Regions from separate parts of the Homo sapiens genome. Here region 2 is linked to region 1. The links are contacts of gene promoters, found by promoter capture Hi-C in blood cells and fetal thymus (Javierre and others, 2016). All regions are on one chromosome and are shown on one strand. The core of a region is centred on a gene start or on the middle of the fragment in contact, and the rest is flanking DNA. Distances in the headings are between cores, read along the strand shown. Region 1 holds the start of IL7 (interleukin 7). Region 2 holds the start of STMN2 (stathmin 2).

Region 1 (7,214 bases), core at 2,639-5,138:
TGCTCTTCTCAAACTGTTGCCATGAGGATCATGGACAATCTCTGCTCTGCCAAATTTAATAGACACACTTTTCAGTCTCTATCTTATTCAACCTCTTTGTGACATTTGGAAATACTGGCTACTTACTCTATCTTGAAATTCTATTTTCCGTTGCCTTCTGAGACACTGACTTCTGACTTTCCCACTTTGCTGCCTACTATGTATTCGTCTGTTTTGTTGATGGGCACCCCTTTCTCCAGCTACTTTTTAGGGTTGCTCATGCCTCAAGATTCCTGCTAGCATTAGTTCTCTCTTCTGTCTTCTAACATGCAGGTTGAGTAATTGCATTCATTTCCATGGCTCTGGCCATCACTGATATGCTAACATACCCATCTCCAGCAAAGTTCTGACAGTCTGACATGGCTATTTTGATTCAGCCTTCAAAATAAACCCTTCTTCATTTTCTCACTTGTAATGCTCAAAACTGACAGTCTCGTCCTATTCCTGGGCTTCATCCACGGAATCAAGTAAGTTTTATTGTTGAACTCTAGTAAGTCTGCCAGAAACAAATAGTTCACATGTTTAACAGTTGACAGTTTTAGAAAACAATAGAATTTCCAATTTATTTTATGAAACTAGCATAACTGGACAAAACTAGCCCAGTATCAGTTGAATATAAAATTAAAAATAAACATAACCCAATTATGACTATAACTGTAAAATTCTAGGTTAAATATTACCAATTTGAACGTTGCATTATGTTAAATTTATGGTTTATTTAGGAATTCAGCAAAAAAACCATGACCATGTAAATAGACGCTCATTAGTCATTTGGTAAAATTTAAATTTTATCAAATTACAGGTCATCCTCTCATAGCTGCTTGTTTATTGGACAGATAAATTAACCTTTATTGATCCTCATTTAACTATGAAAATGGGCCTATACTACTTTAAACTTCTGATTCAAATAATATATCATGTTTCTCTTTTAATGATATTTTTCATCTTTGAAATTAGATATTTAACATCTGTTTTTCCCACCAAACTGAAATCACCTCAAAGACATACACTGCTATCCACAATGTGTAACTTAACATGTGTGAGTGTGCATGACCATTATAGAATTTTGAAACCCAGTGCAAAATGAAAATAAGAGTCCCTTTATCTAAAAATGAGGAATTTCAATACAGTGACAGCAGAGCATCAAATGAAGTACAAGGCCCTGTGCCAATTACACAGATCATATATCCATAATGTTGGCTGTGTGGCGCTGTGTGTGTGTTTTAAATATGTTGAATGTTATTACTGGAAAGTTAAATAAAAAGAACTTCATACTACCCATAGATAGAATGATAGATAGAATTCATATCACAGACTACAAAAAGTAGTCATATTAAGTTGGGTAAAAATAGTTCAGATATTAATCAAAAAATATTTTCTGGTTTACAATAATTGACTATTCTGACTGAAGACTGTAGAACATTAAAAGATATTGGTTAATGTTCAATAATTTTCTCTTTAAATTGACATCATATAATTTTATTTGAACTTCTTCTAATACATTATATTGATCATTCTGAGAATGTTGTCTTCTCTTTTAAAATTTATTTACCATAATTCATAAAATGTATTTACTATTTTCTCCCTTAAAGGCTTTTCTGTCCAGTTCATTGAGTCTATGAGCAAACATAATAGTAACCATTCCATTTCTTTAATCATAAAACATTAGCATTTTAAAAATTTATAAACATTTTATTCTTGTCCATCTATCTTATAAAAAATAATATTCAGTTTATCAAAATATCAAAAGCTAATTTAAGACTTCATTTTGGATTTTTTTCTAAATGGTATTAATTATCTCACAGACAGAAAAAAAAAATCATTACTTGATGTTGTTAGAATGTGCCCATTTCATATAACCCTAACAATTCCCAAAGCTTTATGAATATTCTCTTCAGAAAGATTCTTTATAGTTGGGGGCAGAATCCAGTGTAACATTTACATTGCCTTTCCTGCAGCTCTGAATAACTTCCTTTCATGCTTCCCAAAAGTTCAGATATGTACAACCCTTATTCTACCTGGATTTATGGTGATTGTGATAAAAGGAAGACGGATTTCCTTTTGTGCAAAGTATTGATGGATGCTCTTTTACTTTGTTCCTGGAAAGTTAAAAAAAGAAAAAGGTGCAGGCTATGAACAGTTACATACTTCAATGCTGCTGTCAGGGATTTAAAATAAATAAATAAATAAATAAATAAATAAATAAATAAATAAATCCCCAACCTAGGCGTGTTTCATTATAGAAATCATTTTTAAAACTCACTCCAGTGTCATGTCTGTCCTCCTCCCCACCTCCCACTCTAGGTTCCAGTCAAATGGAAATATGTGGCTTTTCTCACTCCATTCTGTCTCTCTTTTCCATTTGCTTACCCCCTTCGCTTCCTCTTTCATTCTATTTCCTTCTGCTTTCATGAACTTTCTCTTTCACACATATTCACTGATGCATTCCCACTCACCTGTTCTCTCTTACTCTGTCACCCCCCAGTACTTACTGAATGCCAGCCATGGGCTAAAGACCATAGTAAGTGGACGCTGGGCAGGAAGAGAAAGGCCATTGTGGCTGGAGGATAGTGATGTGGTACCACGAAACGTCAGAGAGGGCAGTGGGGCCCAGATCACCAGGGCACTGAGGGCCTGGTACCCAGTGGGAAGTGACCAGAAGGTGGGGCACAAAATAGAATCAGATATCCTGCTGCTCTGAGAAGAATGAAGGGGTTGTGGGCAAAAGTGAAAGCTGGAAGATCCCTTAGACAGTCTCTATAGTCACCTTAGGGTTAATTTTGGAGGTGGGGCAGACAGGACTTGTCTATGGATTTGATGTGGGAAATGAGACCAAAAAAGGAATCAGAGACCCAAGTTTCAGGCTTGAGCAACTCTGTTCTCCCTAGTTCATTGCCATCCTTTTTTTTCCTTTCTCCTTCCCTCCTCTTCCTTGTTCACGCTATAGCAGAATGTGACATACTCCTTACCAGCCCCAAGTTCATTCCTCTTCAAGTGTCAGTTTAGAAGTCACAGACTCCAGGAAACTTTCCTGAAGTCCCCACACTGGGGCAAAGCCACACACGTACTGTCATCTCCCTCCCGGCATCAGTGTGCACATTATTACTTTATTCACAGGAGTTCCAAGCAGGAGTTTCTACAGCCCAAATGCAGCAAGTCTGTGTCTAAGCTCAGTTAGCTAAGTGAAATTTGGAAAGTTACTTAAGGAAGTCTCAGTCCCCACATCTGTAAAGTGCAGATAAGAAAATGGTCTACCTCACACAAAGTTTTGCATGAGATGATATACATAAAATGCTTAGCACAAAACTGGCAGAGAGCAAATGCTAGATAAATGATAGTCGTTATTATTATCGCTGTTGTTACTGGTTTACATTATCCACCTTCATCTAAGCAGGGTTTCTGCAGAATAGCAGAAACCAAACTAATGTAGCAAATAAGCTACATAATTCAAGCCCAGGAAAAAGTTAACATTTCAGTGGCATGCATTCAAGACGAATAGTTTGATTTATTAGCCAATTCAGATAAATGTGCACGTGGAAGTCATAGTTAAATATTATCGTCAGTTTCCACGTCCTGCGTTTAATTTGGGGTTTGATTTTCCAAATACAACACTTACCAGATTAGGTGGACCCACAGGATTATTTTTCCTTGAGGTCTCACCTGAGCAGGTGCATGTACAGCAGACGGAGCAGAAAGAGACTGATTAGAGAGGTTGGAGTGGTAGAGGGCGTGACCCTCTTAATCATTCTTCACTTCCTTTTTTAAAAGACGACTTGGCATCGTCCACCACATCCGCGGCAACGCCTCCTTGGTGTCGTCCGCTTCCAATAACCCAGCTTGCGTCCTGCACACTTGTGGCTTCCGTGCACACATTAACAACTCATGGTTCTAGCTCCCAGTCGCCAAGCGTTGCCAAGGCGTTGAGAGATCATCTGGGAAGTCTTTTACCCAGAATTGCTTTGATTCAGGCCAGCTGGTTTTTCCTGCGGTGATTCGGAAATTCGCGAATTCCTCTGGTCCTCATCCAGGTGCGCGGGAAGCAGGTGCCCAGGAGAGAGGGGATAATGAAGATTCCATGCTGATGATCCCAAAGATTGAACCTGCAGACCAAGCGCAAAGTAGAAACTGAAAGTACACTGCTGGCGGATCCTACGGAAGTTATGGAAAAGGCAAAGCGCAGAGCCACGCCGTAGTGTGTGCCGCCCCCCTTGGGATGGATGAAACTGCAGTCGCGGCGTGGGTAAGAGGAACCAGCTGCAGAGATCACCCTGCCCAACACAGACTCGGCAACTCCGCGGAAGACCAGGGTCCTGGGAGTGACTATGGGCGGTGAGAGCTTGCTCCTGCTCCAGTTGCGGTCATCATGACTACGCCCGCCTCCCGCAGACCATGTTCCATGGTAAGCGCTCTTCTCCCTTGCGCACAAGTTCGCGCGCCCGACGCGCCGGGGCAATCCCAGACGCGCTGGGGGCCCCTGCTCCTAGGCAAGTCCGGGAATAGCCCGGCCTTGCACTTTGGACCTGCGGAGAGCACTGGCTCTCCCATGGGCAGCCAACAGCCGCGCCTGAGTATCCTGGCACATAGCCACTTGAACCTGGGGCGGCTGCTGCCCCTGGCAGGCTGCGAGTAACAGTCCCCAACGCCTGCTTTCTGTCCTGAGAGGGAACGCTGCAGCCTCCGCGCCGCTCAGCGGTGGCAGCCCACAGCCGGTCTCAGAAGCAGCCAAAGGCTCTCTGTCTGGCGCCCTTCCCGTGCTCCTGGCCGCCCCAAGTTACTCACGCAGGCGGCCCGGGTTCGGCGAGTAGCTGGGCTCTTGCAGCTCAGAACTCCCTAGAGAAGTGAAAGCGAAGCTCCCACGGGACGCGCTTTTAAACCCTAGGGGAACAGGTCTCCGGAAAACCCCATTTTTCCCCCCTGAGTAAGACTGGGAGTTTCCGGCAAGGGCTGTACCTTGCGCCTATTGCTGGGAAACCAGTCCTGGGGCTGGCGCTGAGGAAGGCCAGCTTCTGGGTTTTTTTGTTTTTGTTTTTGTTTTTGTTGTTATTTTTTCCTACGGGCGCTTCTTGATGGAGGCAGAATGAAATAGGCGTGACTCTAACTTCCAGACCAGTATTGAGACCTAATATATCTTATTTGTGCAGAATACGGATTTAGAATGGACAGGGACAGAATTCAGGAGGGTTGGATTCGGATGGCAGTCATATATGACCAATGAAAGAGCCAAAAAACTTACTGGAATTAAAAAAGAGGAAAAAGGATTGTGAGGGGAAAAGATCTGCTTAGGAAAATTGGAATGCTTTACAGTAAGTACTTCCTCAAGCAAGAAGACAGCTGGGGGGAGGGTGCGGGAATAGGAAACTGACTGCTCTTTCTTTTGATGGCTACTCCGTTAGATCAAGACTTCTTTCCACTCTCGTGGGTAAAGAATCAAGAATTGACACAACCAAGGAGTGCCAGCTCAGTAACAAAACAAAGATAGAGAGAGCGGAAAGAATAGCCAACGTAATTATGGAGGACTTCTAAGGAATGTCCTCCCGGAGCTTAATACAAAACTAAAAATTGAGCACAACCCTATTTTCCTTGCAATGCCCATAGTTCTGCAGTTTCTTCTTCTGGATCACCCTTGGTTCTAATCCTTGCAACACCTCTGCTCTAAAGTAGAAAGGTAAACTGAGAAAAGGAAGCTAGCGTGTGCATTTTTCAGAAAAAGCCTTTACTTCCTGAAGCACAGTTATATGAATCATGGGCTATAAGTTTTCATTAGCAGACAAAATATTAAAATTCTAATAATAATGATTATAATGCATGGCTTCCTGAAGTTTGTTTCAAGAAATTTCACTAGAAGCTTGTTCCATTAAGAGTGCACATAATGTTACTCTTTACCCTTTGTCTTTGCCATTTCTTTTGAGAGTTGAAGTAGTTGAGGATCTACTATGTGGTCTCCAACTGTCTTATCTGGTTTGGGTAATTTCATCATATTTGAGGACCAAAAAGTTGAATAGCAATAAAAATAGACTCTACTCGGGAGGCTGAGGCAGGAGGATTGCTTGAGCCTGGAAGTCAAGGCTGCCGTGAGCCATGATCTTACCACTGTCCTCCAGCCTAGGCAACAGAGTGATGCCCTGTCTCAAAAAATAATAATAGAGAACTAATATTAGAAACCCTGAACAAGCATAAAGGAGAATTACAAACTGCATCACGTTAGTGTTTGAATATTTTTTTAAAAAATGGAAAAGGCCATTTCATAGAACGAACTTACGTGTCATATTCACACTCATCTATGTGACTTTTTTTTCTGCTTTTAACCCTGACACATAACCTACTGTAACAAGAACAAATATTTAGTCTCTTTTTCTGAAATAAAAGCATATGATGCAGTTTCACAGTTTGGCCAGGAAGTACCTTAGTGAGGTTCATGCACAGGAAGATGGGTTTTTATGCAATCCCCTTGACTACACATATATGGTTATTTTTTAAGGAAGCAATGTAGTTCAGTGCCTAAAAGCTGAGGTTCTAGACTCTTCAATGTGACAGTCTTGGATTTGAATTCCATATCTATATTATGTACAGGAATTTTCTGACTAGGCATGGTGGCTCAAGCCTGTAATCCCAACACTTGGGGAGGCTGAGGTGGGCAGATCACCTTAGGTCAGGAGTTCGAGACCAGGCTGGCCAACATGGTGAAACCTCGTCTCAACTAAAAATACAAAAAAATTTGCCAGGCGTTGTGGTGGGCACCTATAATCCCAGCTACTCAGGAGGCTGAGGGAGGAGAATCACTTGAACCTGGGAGGCTGAGGTTGCAGTGAGCCGTGATCGCACCATTGCACTCCAGCCTAGATGATAGAATGAGACTCCATATCAAAAAAAAAAAAAAGAGAGAGAAAAATACGAAAGGAATTTTCCTACATGACTGTCTTTGTGCCCCAGATTCTCCATCTATAAATGTGAATAACTTGTAGTACTTACCTACTTCTTCATGAAGTGGTTATGGAATTAAATTATCAGTGAAAATAGGTCTATGCAATGGACATTCAGTAAACACTGGTTTTAAAGACTGATAAAGACTGGAGTTGATGGATTGTAGAAAACTATTTATGTTAACTTTGACCCCCATAACTTAAGCAGCTGAGGATTGAATGTATTATTTGGCTTACATTAAAAACCAACAAGAA
Region 2 (7,214 bases), core at 3,518-6,017, 800 kb before region 1:
CCTCAGCTTTTCATTTCTAGTTACTTATATATCCATTCAGAAGGTGCCCACTTCATTAGAAAAGATAATGGGGAATATTATATGCACCTCTTACAATCATGCTGAATACATAATTGTTTAATGAATCAGGAAAAAAGCACTCGCCCTGATAATTAATTATCTTTGAAATTGGAATTAATTTCAAAATCTATTATTTTAATACTGCAGAAGTAGTGTTTTTTTCATGATTTGCAAATGCAGTTAAATTATGGCCAGAAAGGATGCTTGCGTTTGTCATATTTGGGGTGGGATTTTTATTTGGATGGCGGCTACCATTTCACGATCCATGTATCTGTGTAGGATTGAGGCTGTATCAAGAATCAGCAGTTGGAAGAACAGTTTCAGGGGAAAAAACTTAAAATTTTGTGCATAAACTATATTTATATATTTATAGATATAACCTTATGTTGAAGATCATCTCAATTATATATGTGTATTCTCACCCATTGCAGCCACAAACAATTCTTTGCAGAGAATTTTCCAGCAATCGTTGGCACACAAACCCTGCTCTTAGCAAGCACTTGCACATGTATCTTAGCCACATGAACATACATAATCCTGGCAGGAAGCAAAAATATATTTGCTTTATAACTTAAAATGAACAACTGGAGACAAATTTACCTTTTTGTGGGGGAAAGGGATGAGGGCAATTAGGAGGAAGCAAAGCGAACGCAACAAGGGTTAATCCTTAACCAAGAGCAATCCACGTCCCTTTTGAACAAATGAGAACAAACAAGGCTACTGAATCATTAAATAATAACAACGATTTGAAATGATAATAATACTGATGATGACGATGAGTTTGCAGCCACTAGCCTGCAGCGGAAACCTTTCTGAGGGGTGCAGAAAGCGAGGCGAGATCGCCCCCACCACCCATTCTCAGAACCTTTCTGGACGTGCGAGTGAACTGCGAATTGTGGAAAGCGGGGGTAGCTCAGGACACTGCGCAGAAACCGGTCTCCCCGGCTGCACCGCGGGGGCGAGCGCCCAACTCCGGGGAGGGGAGCGCAGGGCGCGGCGCGGGGCTCTGCAGGGCTGGCTGCGCTCCACACACCCAGTCGCCACGTGCGCCCCCACCCGGCCAGCGGTAGGCGGCTCTGGGCCTCAGCTGGGAGGGGTGGGGCCGAGCCGCGCCCCGCTGGAGGAGCGAGGGTCTCCCTTAGAGAAGCCCCTCGCGGGGTCTCCATTCTGGAAAATCATAGAGAACAGAGGGTGGGCGGGGGGCTTGGGCTGGGGGAAAAAAAGCCCCGAGCTCCGCGGACCGTGGGTGGGCGAGAAGAGACAGCCCTCCCTGAATCCCTGGGAAGGGGGTCACCTCTGCGGTCTCGCGCCCGGGCTGGGTGGGGCCGCGCCTTTGTGTGGCCGGGCGGGGCTCGAGCCAGCTTTTCTGCAGAGCCACCCGCTTGGCTGGGAGGGGCTCGGTGCTGGGGCTGAGAGCCACGCCGGGGGTCTGCGCACATCAAGGGGTGCTCGGGCCGTTGTGGACTGCGGGGCTGAAAAAAGAGGTTCCAGGACTGCATACAGCTCAACTGCCCCTCCCATATTCCTCTTCCCCGCCAGTCTCGGAGCCTGAGGTCTCCCCGGCTCCGCGGGGAGGGTAGGGCAGGGCGGAGCCGCGCAGATGGAGTCCTTTCGGCAGCTTTCCCTGTCTCCGCATCCTGCAACCAAGTCCCGGGGGACACGTGCTTCCAGCTGCCACAGGACCCCAGGCCCCACCCTGCCTTTTCACCCCGGGGCCACTGAGCGCCAGAACCGTGGGCACTCAAGGCACAAGACCAATTGCGGATGAAGGCCCTGAATCCAGAATCTTTTCCGGTCATCCTGTGTCTCCACTGTCTTGTCTCTCTGAGCTTATGAAATTGCCGATATTTGGCACTGTCTGACCCACAAAACGGAAATTTCGCGTGGCTTAACTTAAGACTTTGACCTCTTTTGCTTTATATACGATTTCATGTCATCTCTATTATTATACATACACATGTCTAGGTTCTAGAAGCTTTTCCCGCAAACGATCAAAGGTCTTCAAAGAACCCTTTATCTGTGTCTATGTCTAAACACTCTATGTAATTTGCTTCCGAAAAGAAAAATGTTAACCCACTTTTCCCATCTCTCTTAAAAGCAGAACAATGAGGCCAGCGTGGGGAGGGCGGGGTCAGTGGTCAGGTCTCTCTTGGAAGCCGCGGCGGGGAGTCGGGAGCGGGGAGCGCGGGGCGTGGCGCCGCTGTCCCCGCAGGGTTGGGCTCCTGGGTGTCACGCTGCGCTCCCCACCCGACCCCCTTTCGAATGAAGATGCAGCACCGGGCGGGGGGGCGGGGCTGCGCGGTTCCGCACTGGGTGGGGCTGTCCGCATTGTGCGCCCAGCGCTGCAGGTGCCTCCCCCCGGGACCGCTGGTCCGCACACAAAGAAACCCCACCCCAGCGCCTTCGAAGCCGCTGTCCCTCCACCCCTCCCTGCCGCGCGCTTCCCCGCCCCTGCAGCTGCCCACCCGCGCCCTCCACGCCCTCCGCGACTTCCTCTCTCCTTCCCCTCCCTTGCCCTAAAACAAAGGAGCGGAGGTCCTACCCCCACCCTGTCCCCCGCCGTCTTACCTCCCTGCACCGCACCCCAGGACTAGCGGTTTCTTCGACGAGACAATACCGTAAAATGTGCCCAGTTCTCTCCATCCCCTCCCCCCGTCTCCACCCATCTTTCAAACAGCGGGATGGGACCGCTTTGACTTTGCAATTTTCTTTTTCCTTTCTCCCACCTTCCCTTTACCCCTTTCCTATTTTCTTCTTAAACTAGAGAAGAAATAAAAAAAAAAAAGGTCGTTATAAAGCACTTTCCAAAATGTCCCTTAAGCCCATTTAAGGCAAACAGTTAAGGTAGCTTCCTCCCCTCACGATTGAGTCCTAATTTTAAATATGGAAACAGAATAAATTCTCTACCCATAGGAGGGCAACTTACCCGCTTCTACCTTTTAAAAGAAATTCTTCGCTTTAGATTTCCATAGACCTCTTCTCTGCCCTCCCACCTCCCCCAGAACTGCCCTGTCCTTCCTGGTCCTGTGTTACCATTAACATCTTTTTCTTTATAAAATATCTCTGAATGCTTCTAGAGCTCAAGAGAGGAGGTGAGAGGTGGGCTCCAGGTAGAGCCGACGGAGAACGAGGCGCAGTGCCTTACCCATTGCTGTTTTAGCCATTGTAGGGATGTGCAGACGCTGAGCAGTGGCGAAGGCAAAGGGTCCGGCTACAGCAGCGGAGAGAGCGAGAGAGAAGACTGAATAAGGCACTGAGTCTGCAGAGTGGGACCGTGCTAGAGAAAGAGCAAGAGGCAGGAGCCCATGAATAATTATCACTCAGAAGCTCAAGCAGATTGGCTCCCAAGGTCCCCTGACATGACTCCCGCAGAGTCAGAATCTCCAAGCATTAAATATTGATCGGCCAATGGTGCTGGAGTACAAAGTACCAGAATGCAGTTTGAAATGGAAATCAGTCCTTCCCTGTCGGCTCCCCCCATTTTGGGGGCCTGATAGTACAGTCCAAGTAGAGTGGAGCTTTAAGCCCTGAAGCTTCCTAGGAGCTAAGAACTGGGCTGTGCCTACCTGGGAGCCAGGAGGCTTGACTTTGCTCATACATGTGCCATTGCACAATTCAATGGAAAAGGATTCAGAAGCTTGAGAAGTCCTCACTATATGCAGGCTGTTGGAAAATTCTGTTTAAATACTGTGTTTTCACTTTTTCATATTTTCTTTCACCTTTGGCTCTGTCCTTGGTTCTAGTCTTTCAGGGCTACCCTATGTCTGGCTATGGTGGCAGCTCAGAGCAGACTTGCATTATTGTCCTTTATCTTTTAGCACAGCTGGACTTAGGCGTCTCTAAACTCTTGAAGGTCTCTCAGGAGAGGGAAGCATGGTGTTTTCTTCCCTTGGCACAGAGGAAGGGGCTACCTGGTTGCTTGGGAATAGGGATGGTAATAATGGTCCACCTGGGGACATGGGGGAAGAGGAAGAAAGTTTAACCTCTGGTGCCTGTGTCCTGTCCATTTGTTAACACGGCAGAAAACAGGTTGGCTGGCTGGTTTGGGCATTAAGGAAACCACAGGTGAATGCCATGTTGCCCTGAAGGTGTAGGATTAAGTGGGTCAAAATTTTAGTAACCTTTCCAGGGCTCTAAGGAGAATGCTTTACATGGAAAACTTAGAAGAGATGAAAGGTGTGGTCTGGGTCATTATTTTTCTGAGATCCAGAGAGACTACGTTTATGTAGGCCCAGGAAGGCTGTGTTCAAGTTTCGGATTGAGCAATGTCGTATGTGAGGATCTTTGAGACTAGTTGCAAAAAATGACTTTCATTACAAACAAGGCATTTATTAGTTCCTCCTTCTCACTTAATGGATGCCAGTCATTCATTTGTTCTCTTTCACTTGACTTAAATATGTATTGAGCATTTACCATGTGCACAGCTCTGAAAATGGTGAGAAAAAGTTTAGGAGTTGCTGCATGAAGTTTTTAATTACTGCTAATTTAACTCTTCTGTAACTTTATTGAGCCAGTCTAATTCCATGCAGAAACTGGTTTTAATATTAGAAAAATAGGCAAAGAATTGCTAATTCCGACGTTTGAAAGCCAAAAGAAGAGCACATTGTTGCAATCATGAACAGGTATGAAACCCTGGCAAGTTTTTAATTTCAGAAAAATGAATGTATTTTTTTCTTCTTATTAAAATAGGTTTTTAGCAGCTTTCTGTCCAATCACATTTCAACTTTTTTTTCTATCCTCAGGAACAATACACAGTTTCAAATACATAAAACCAATTGAAAATAGCAGGGCACTCTCCTTGGTGCTGAAATGAATTTCTTCACCTCCTATTAACTTGTAAGACATTTTAACCTCATGGACATTTTGCTGACTGATAGGATGCTACTGGAACTGGAACAGTTTTGACCTGCTGAATCATGGGGAAAATAAAAGATGAAGTGGAGATCAATAAAATTATTTCTTGAACAGGAAGATTAGAAATTATATTTCCTATCTTTGAACAGGTCTGTGACTATGACACAGCAAGAGAGCAATATGGAAGTTGGCAGGGTCTGGAAATAAATAACCATTTTCTCTCTATATATAGGCATTTCCCACTTTAAATGTAACAGTTAATCACCTCTCACTGGAGTAGTTATCACTCATGAGGTGAAGGATCTTCAGCATGTCTGTGTGACTAATATTTTCAAAGTATTTCTCTTCTCCCCACCACACCCTTTCCCCTCAGGCTGTGTGTCATCTCTACACATTCTTCAGCTTCCTTGGAGAACAAGGGCCCTAAGTCATGGCATTAGTTTCTTTAACAACTGCAGTTGGCTGCTGAATGAAATCGATTGCACTTTTGATGACTATGAGGAAAACAAAACACTCATTCTACTGCCCTAAGGGTCACATATGTGACTCTTTTCTATTTCCGATTTTCTAGGTGTTAGCCACCTAACTTCAGTTATGAATGATTTTTAAATAATGTCAAACAGGGAAGAGAGTAGGTCAATATGATTTACCATAGAATAAAAAGATAGTAGGCAAAATTGTCAATCAGCTAAGAAAACACAAATAAATTCAAAGGGCTGTGCCATTATCAAATTGTTTTTTGTTTTCTTTTATCATTACAATATGGTATCATGCATATTCACATGGGAAAGTAAGGGTGAAATATGAACAGAAAAATTATTTCATATTCAATATGTTATTCACTTATTCATTTGTTCAGCTAATTTATTCAACAAATATTTATTTGATGATGTTTCAGGCTTTTGTGATGCCAGCCAAGCTTCTCCTTAATGTCTGAAAAATAGAAAGTGAAGGAAAATATAACACCCATCTCTTTAAGAAAATATTAATTTGGGGGAGTGAATATGATCTTGTGTATTGTGGATCACACTTTGTTGCAAAAATTTGAAAAAATAACCCAAACTGGCACTAATAATAAAAGTGCATTTGCTGTTTCGTCTAACCATATAGATAGAGTTGGCCCTAGAGGTCTGGAGGTGAGATCAGCTTTTCCTGAAGGAAATGGTTTTGATGGGAATGGGTGGACACTCAAAGAATAGGTACTACATTTGCACAGTATAAACTAAGGACAACCAGTATCTGTCGTGTGGGGATTTGGGTAGACTGAAGGGTTATCATGTATGAACTGTCTAAGCCATCATGGATATATAGTAATTTTAAGTACTATGACTATATTTAGTGTTTCCAATACATTTAAACCTTTGAAAGGTAGAGAATGAATAGTGTATATCTTTATACCCTTCCTAGTGGTTGGTTTCATGATTCACGTGGTAGACAGTTAAAAACAATTTGTGAAATAATAAATAATACAGTGTTGAAAATGATTCAAAATGGATGAATCCAGTGAGACCATATTGACACTTCTAACCTCCTTTGCTTAGCTTGTGTTGGGAGCAGGTATTAGGCTGTTTACCAGTGTTTATTTATTTATATCCTGCCCTATTCCCAAAGAACCTAAATGAGTAGAGCTCACAATAGTAGATGGCCCTTGTTAATTTTTGTTATCTTTAACAGCCAGCAGTAAGCTGGAGCTGTGGAAATCACAGACTTGCTAACAGAAATTTTAATTATTGTGGGTTATAGCCTAGTGTGTATTATCTCTGTGAGGAGGCCTGAGGTGTTGATTTCTTTCCAAACCAGAGAGAAGCAGTTGCTTTGGAGGATTAGCTGATGCCATCTAACACAGTCATATGATTTTCTGCTATTCATAATCAAGTGCCTGGGAAAGAATCCTAAAGTAATTATTAAAAGTTAGTGAGATAAGAGAAACATTGTTAAGGTCAAATTAATTGTTTTGATCTGACCTCAGGTGATTACAAAAGAAATGTGAGAGATAAAATCCATTGAATTTTTTTAGATGTTTAGAAATTTAGGATATAAAGTAGTTATAGCTGAAGATATTTAGAGATGCATCTAAAATAATCACACATGAAAAAATAGTTGACTTTTTAACATTTTGATTATTTTGCCATGTTTAAATTCTTATAGATTAATGAAAAATAAAAAGGATCATGTGTCCTTTAATAGAACTGTCTAATATGGTTTATTCAAAAGGAAAGTCATTCCAAGGAGGGAGAGTTGGTGTTCTTTATTAGCAGTGAGCTCTGTATTGCTCAGGAATTTGCCAGTGTGTTAGAGTT

What was found. Contacts are between HindIII fragments. The CHiCAGO score rates a contact against its expected background, and 5 or more counts as called.
Region 2: a contact is called between a fragment that was not itself captured here and the fragment with the promoter of IL7 in region 1, in 1 of 17 cell types (M1 macrophages). The highest score is 6.5, in M1 macrophages.

The regions. Positions count from the first base shown.
Region 1 is chr8:78,802,137-78,809,350 of GRCh38, reverse strand. IL7 (interleukin 7) reads left to right here and starts at 3,888. Exons shown (of 6, transcript NM_000880.4): 1 at 3,888-4,438. The coding sequence starts at 4,429. MITA1 (metabolism induced tumor activator 1) reads right to left here and starts at 4,879. Exons shown (of 3, transcript XR_002956715.2): 1 at 3,656-4,879. The HindIII fragment of the contact is 3,968 bases long and covers 1,919-5,886 here.
Region 2 is chr8:79,607,206-79,614,419 of GRCh38, reverse strand. It overlaps STMN2 (stathmin 2), which reads right to left and starts at 3,303. Exons shown (of 5, transcript NM_007029.4): 1 at 3,206-3,303. The coding sequence starts at 3,224. RefSeq lists a silencer at 994-1,053. The HindIII fragment of the contact is 2,136 bases long and covers 3,700-5,835 here.